2 separate regions of the Homo sapiens genome follow, and region 1 is linked to region 2. The links are contacts of gene promoters, found by promoter capture Hi-C in human tissues and cell types (Jung and others, 2019). All regions are on one chromosome and are shown on one strand. The core of a region is centred on a gene start or on the middle of the fragment in contact, and the rest is flanking DNA. Distances in the headings are between cores, read along the strand shown.

What was found. Contacts are between HindIII fragments. The study calls those that stand out against the background at their distance.
Region 1: the fragment with the promoter of SNRPA here is called in contact with the fragment with the promoter of ZNF780A in region 2 in 1 of the 25 tissues and cell types used here (hippocampus).

The regions. Positions count from the first base shown.
Region 1 is chr19:40,749,953-40,753,442 of GRCh38, reverse strand. It overlaps SNRPA (small nuclear ribonucleoprotein polypeptide A), which reads right to left and starts at 2,240. Exons shown (of 6, transcript NM_004596.5): 1 at 1,962-2,240. The coding sequence starts at 2,034. ACTMAP (actin maturation protease) reads left to right here and starts at 2,966. Exons shown (of 6, transcript NM_198476.5): 1 at 2,966-3,490. RefSeq lists enhancers at 1,006-1,633, 1,634-2,261, 2,349-2,418, 2,959-3,198, 2,890-3,490 and silencers at 2,172-2,354, 2,619-2,758. The HindIII fragment of the contact is 3,030 bases long and covers 777-3,490 here.
Region 2 is chr19:40,089,470-40,092,648 of GRCh38, reverse strand. ZNF780A (zinc finger protein 780A) reads left to right here and starts at 1,706. Exons shown (of 6, transcript NM_001142578.2): 1 at 1,706-1,743; 2 at 2,414-2,483. RefSeq lists a silencer at 1,555-1,884 and an enhancer at 1,432-1,973. The HindIII fragment of the contact is 2,589 bases long and covers 718-3,179 here.

The sequences.
Region 1 (3,490 bases), core at 991-3,490, 660 kb before region 2:
CCTGGGTGACAGAGTGAAACTCTGCCTCAAAAAAAAAAAAAAAAAAAAAAAAAAAAAACATATGCAAAATTTACACTCCTGATTTTTTTTTTTTGAGACAGTCTCTATCACCCAGGCTGGAGTACAGTGGTGCGGTCTCAGCTCACTGCGACCTCTGCTTCCCAGGGTTCAAGTGATTCTCCTGCTCAGCCTCCCGAGTAGCTGGGACTGTAGGTGCGCACCGCCACATCCAGCTGATTTTTGTATTTTCAGTAGAGACGGGGTTTCACCATCTTGGCCAGACTGGTCTTGAACTCCTGACCTCAAATGATCTGCCCACCTCAGCCTCCCAAAGTGCTGAGATTACAGGCGTGAGCCAGTGCCCGGCTGCTGGTTTTGCTTTCTTCAACAGCAACTTCACTGGTAACCTCAAACTGAATCCCAACAAGCTCCTTCGGTTCTCCCGATAATTTTCTTGAAGTGATAAGAGCTAACATTTATCCAGCCCTTTACTAGCTGCCAGTTACCATAAAAAAGAAATACTGCAAGGTTTAGCTAATTTAATCTCCCCCAACATCCATGCAAAAAAGGTATTATGATTTTGCTCAGTTTTTAGATCTGGAAAATGAGGTTCAATAAAGGTGATAATTTACTTGAGAATGTGAGAGAGTCTTTCCGATTTCAATAATTGAGTTCTTTTTTTTTTTCCTTTTTTCAGATAGGTTCTTGCTCAGCCCAGGCAGCAGTGCAGTGGTGCAATCATAGCTCACTGCAGCCTCAACCTCTCTAGCTCAAGCGATCCTCCCACTTCAGCCTCCCAAGTAGCTGGGACCACAGACGCACCCCACCCACGCCCAGCCTTTTTTTTTTTTTTTTTTTTTTTTGTAGAGAAAAGGTCTGGCTTTGTCGCCTAGGCTGATCTTGAACTCCTGTGTTTCAGTGATCCTCCTGCCTCAGCCTCCCAAAGTGTTGGGCTTACAGGCCTGAACCACCACGCCCGGCCAAAAATTGGGTTCCTAAGCAGAATTCTATACGGGTGGCCTCAACCACTTTACTTGCTATGTGACCCTGGGCAAGTCACATCACCCCTGTCTCAGTTTCTTTTTCTTTTCTTTCTTTTTTTTTTGAGACGGAGTTTCGCTCTTGTTGCCCAGGCTGTAGTTCAATGGCGCAATCTCGGCTCACTGCAACCTCCGTCTCCTGGGTTCAAGCAATTCTCCTGCCTCAGCCTCCCGAGTAGCTGGGATTATAGGCATGCGCCACCATGCCCGGCTAATTTTGTATTTTCAGTAGAGAAAGGGTTTCTCCATGTCGGTCAGGCTGGTCTCGAACTCCCGACCTCAGGTGATCCGCCCGCCTCGGCCTCCCAAAGTGCTGGGATTGATTACAGGGGTGAGCCACCGCGCCCGGCCCCAGTTTCTTAGTTGACGAATGGGAATAACAATAGCCTTCTTCCTACAAGATTGTTGTGAGAATTAAATGTTATCAAGATTTATATGAAAGCACACAGACCAGCCCATGATACAGAGCGTTAGCCACCATTATGGTACATGTTCATTGTGGGCTGATCACTGAAAAAGCCGGTGACCAAGAAAGCCCCAGTCCTTGCCCTCACGGAGTTCAAAGGCCACTGGGAGGAGAGAGAGCCCCACGACAGCTCAGAGGAATCAGGGCTTGATGGGAGATGGTCTCAGCGTACGGCAAGTCAGCGGCAGCCACGTGAAGGGACAAGGCAAGGCTTCCTGGAGGAAGGGTCCTGTGACCTCAAACCTTGTAAGATGAGCAGCAGTGACCACGTTAAAGGGCAGAGTGTAAGATGAACTAATGGAGTGTTGAAGACAGGAAGTAGTTTGTGTAAAGGCCAAGGAGTTAACTCGAAGTTTGGCTGGACAAACACTTAGAAAGAGAGGCGGGTGCAGGGGACGGAAGAGGGGCCAGCCCGTGCGGGACAGTCTGGACTCCGGACTATCCCGAGAACTCACCATCCTTCTTGATCTTCTCATTGAGGTTGTTGATATAAATAGTGTGGTTAGGGCGGGTCTCGGGAACTGCCATGGAGTGAAGTGTTGAGGTAAGTCTTAAAGGAGGAAAAACGTGACTTTAGCCCTGGGTTTCTCCAAATCCTTTGTCCCAACGTCGGCTGCTCAAGGATCTTCCTCCGAAAAGGAAGTCAGGTAAGGCGGGAGTAGGGGCAAGGACGGAGGCAAAGCGCGACAACAAAGCGTGCGTAGGACCCGCTTCTCCAGCCCGCGTGCGGAGAGAACTCTCGAGAGATTTACTACGACTTCCAGGATGCTCTACGCGACCCGGTGGGCGGAGCACCCTAAATGGCGATTCCCATTGGCCCAAGCATCCGAAGGGCCGTCCCGGAGAAAAAACCCGGATGTGGGAGCCAGTATAGAAAAAAGGGACAGGTCCTAGGCAGCCTGGCCTCGAGCAGCAAGTTTCCTCAGACGGGCCCAGGAAGGCCCGGACGCCAAGCGTACCGCTCGCCTGCCGCCGATGGTCGTTTGCACCGGAGGTTACCTTCCGACAGGGCCGTAGTTCTCTCAACCGGCGCCTGCTACTTCCCTGAGACCAAACCACAAAGCTTTCTCTCCTGGCCCCGCCTCTGCCTTTCTGCCAGCCAATCGCCGCGCGGAAACGCAGTAGCTTGACCAATCAGAGCAAGTCTCGTTTCTGGGCTCAGCTGTTGCCAATCAAAACGATATTTGGGTTCCCGCCTAGGTAGAAAAACCCCGCCCCACTCCCTGAAAGCCCACCTCCTTCCGTGGCGCCCGGGTCTACGGACCAATCAGTGAAGGTCACGAGTCTGTACGCGTCTCGCGCTGCGGTGTCTTCCGGAGGCAATCCTTTTTGGAGTCCCGCCTCTTACCCCCGCCAGAGCTGCGTTTTCTGTCACGTGATCGCAAAATGGGCGGGAACTGTTGCGTGTAATACCACGTGATATGGGAAAGGCAGTGTGCGGGGGCCGCCATTTTCCGGGAGTGGGAGGTGCACTTTACTTCCTGACTCCTTTCCTTTTTCCAGTGGTTATCGCGGCGCCCACCGGCCTCTGATCTCTGAGTCTTCTCCAACCCACAGACGTTTTTTGTTGCTCTGGTTCCAGGACCTTCTCCACAACTAGGCCATTTTCCCTGCCAGGTGTCCTTTTTGACCTCTTGACCTCTGACTCAAAGGTCAGCTCAAAGGTTCCGAACTCGGGCCTGGGATGTGAGGGGGTACTGAACCTAAGTTCTCCGAATCTTTAGCCCTGGGTCCCTAAGTCGCATCCTTAAGGCACCTCACTCTAGATCTGAGCCTTCATATCCCAAACTCACTCATGAGTTTCCACATCCAGCCCCAAAGAATGAGTTAACTCCTACTAACTCTCCACCTAAGACTCCCGAGGTAACCCAACCGGTACCACAGATCCGGTTCCGGATTTAAGGACCCCACCCTGTTAACCGTCAGGTGCCTTATGACTTGAGTCAGCCTCGCAATTCCTGCTCCCGTGGTTTCAAATATTAGC
Region 2 (3,179 bases), core at 457-2,956:
CTATACCCTGTTGCTTTTCTGTGTTTGTTCTATCAATTACCAAGAGAGATATATTGAAATATCTGACTATAATTGTGGATCTGTCTCCTTTTCGATCTAATAGATTTTTCTTCCCATACTTAGAAGCTTTGCTTTTAGGAGCAAAATTTATGTTTGTTTTTTTCTACTCGATGAGCTATCTCCTTTATCATTATTATGCCCTTCTTTATCTCTGGTAATAGTCTATGTCCGGAGTCTACTTTGTTTTTAATAAAGCCACTCCAGCTTTCTTTTGACTAGTGTTAGGATGGTGTATATTTTTCCATCCTTTTACTCTTAACCTTTTAGTGCTTTTCATTTAACATATTACCTGTAGGTAGCACCCATTTGGGTCTGACTTTTTGTTTATTTATTTATTTAATTATCTTTTTTTATTATACTTTAAGTTCTAGGGTACATGTGCACAAAGTGCAGGTTTGTTACATATGTATACATGTGCCATGTTGGTGTGCTGCACCCATTAACTCGTCATTTACATTAGGTATATCTTCTAATGCTATCCCTTCCCCCTCCCCCGACCCCACTATAGGCCCCGGTGTGTGATGTTCTCCACCCTGTGTCCAAGTGTTCTCATTGTTCAATTCTCACCTATGACTGAGAACATTTGGTGTTTGGTTTTCTGTCCTTGCGATAGTTTGCTCAGAATGATGGTTTCCAGCTTCATCCATGTCCCTACAAACGACATGAACTCATCCTTTTTATGGCTGCATAGTATTCCATGGTGTATATGTGCCACATTTTCTTAATCCAGTCTATCATTGATGCACATTTGGGTCTGACTTTTTAAAAAATCCAATCTGACAATCTTTTTAAATTAAGGTGTTTAGACCATTTACATTTAATGTGATTATTGATATGGTTGAGTTAATCATCTTATTTGTTTTCTGTCACAATTCTGGAATGAAAAGACGTTTTGCTCTTTATTATTACATGTTTCCTCCTTATGTAGCATAGGAAACTAGAAAAATGATTTTGAAAGTTAAATATTGTTAGACTACAACAGTGAAATCAGGCTCTTCCTAGGAAAAGCAAGCCCTTTTTTGCATTTGTTTATACTATTTTAACAAAGTGTTAATTATTCATCCTTCAAGATAAGGCAAGTAATTATCTGTGTATTTTTATCCGTTTCCATGTCGTCCTGAATCACGTTTTTCTCTCCAGATAACAGGAACATTGTCTCGAAGAATCCAGGACATTTGATTCTGAAATCTCCAATGTGAACCACACTTCCTCTCCTAGTATATAACCAACCAATTCTTTAGTTCAAGCTTTTCAAATTTATCCTAAGTCCCCTTCAAATAGCACAGAGAAGTGGAAGCCTATCGCTGGGGTCTGAGACAAAGGAGTTAAAGCACCTACATGTTGACATAATTTTACTTTAAATTCTTCTTTCTTCTTTAAAAGTTCTGCTCATTTGCATTCTCCATGGAGAGAAAAAGTAAATTATACTGACGCTCCGAGAGGGAAACGCTCTTCTCACATGGGGATCCTTGCTCATGGCAACAACCTGTGCACCCCGCGGGCTGGAACTCCCACGAATCCACTAGGCTCGGCTCCCTTAGGGGTCAGCCCCCATAGTATGCTGGGATCAACCTGAACGGATCACAGCTCAAGGCTTCTGAGGCTTTTTCTGTTCGGGACTGTATTTCCCAGCGGCCACCGCGCCAGTCCACTTCCGGTCTCCGGGGTCGACGACATAGCGGGGTAAGGTCTTCACGTCTGAGGAAGAGATCTGTGGCTGCGGGAGATCTCTGCGGATTGGGGCTCCAGCCTGACTGACCCGACAGTGCGGGTGGCCTAGGGGGAGGCGCTCAGAGTAGGAACCCGGGGGTGCAGACGGGATCTGCCGGATCCCCAGGCGTGTGTGTGCGCGGGTATCAGAGGAGGGGGATTGTGAGATCATGAGTGACGGAGGGGACTGTGAGTGTGTGCGTGAGGTTCTATGCACAGGCCCGGGAGGGCGTGTGGACGCAGCGCACTTTGCTGAGTGACACTGTGCCGGTGCCCCTAGGCTCCTGCTGCTTCCTCCCTCTTTCCGCTTCACAGCTGCGGGGACTGCAGCAGAGGAATGGCCCCAGTAGGGAGGTCAGATATTGAGCCGAGAATGAAGCTTTACACAAGAAAGCGCAGAAGTGCCCCCGAGTGTTCCCCAGGGGGGCAGCTACATGTTGAGAACCACAGCGTCCTCAGAGCTCTGTCCCCAGAAACCAGCTCCAAACTGGTTGTACTGGTTGAATCGATTCCTCTTCCTTTTACTTCCTTCCTATTTCGTGTGAAGTGAGGGAAATTGTGGCTATGGAGGGAGGGTGTTTTCAAACTTAGTCTGCGCTCCAAGAAATGCCTGGAGTCTCACGCTTGCCGTATCCTTCTCCAGTCGTATTTTTATCCAAAAGAAGGACCTGGAGGAGGATGAGAGCGTTACTGCTGCACACCTAAAGTCAAGGGTGAGTTTGTGCTTTGTATTTGTTCAAGACATGCGTTTTTGATTTTAGAATATTGAGATTTCCCCTTAAATTTTCAGTGAAACTAGGGGGATATGCAAATTGATTCGTGCCCCCTCCTTCACCTTTCCACTTAATAGTCACAAAACAATTTGGCAAATCGTTCACACCTTCCTGTGCGCTCTCTTTTTCGAAGCTGGTATAGAAATACACCTCCAGTAGTTAATATTAAAGCTCCATTTTAGACCCATATTTGGGAAGGAGGAGATTAGTGTTTAGGTGGAATCACACACTAGACATCAGTTGGTCTTTACAGACCTCCTTTTCAAAACAGGGAAGAATGGAGATGGTTGGATGATCTCCATTGCCTGTGAGGCATTCGGTAGTGGAAAAGTGACCGCACAGAAATTGGTATCAACAAGAGCCAGGATTTTTCCAGGGAGTCCATGAGATGATATTTGTAATACTTGCCAGATCTCTCTGAGGTTTGGCAGCTCCAGTTGTGTTTTAGGCGTGTGTGTGTGAGTGTGTGTGTGTGTGTGTGTGTGTGTACTGTGAGAGGCAGTACACTGTTGTGGTTAAGAATAGGGGAGTGGATCCAGAGTATCTGGGTTGGAATATTGGTTCTGTCATTAGAATGAATTAATATCGTAAAGCCCCTTAGAGCAGTGCTAGGCATATAATAATGTTTAATATGTT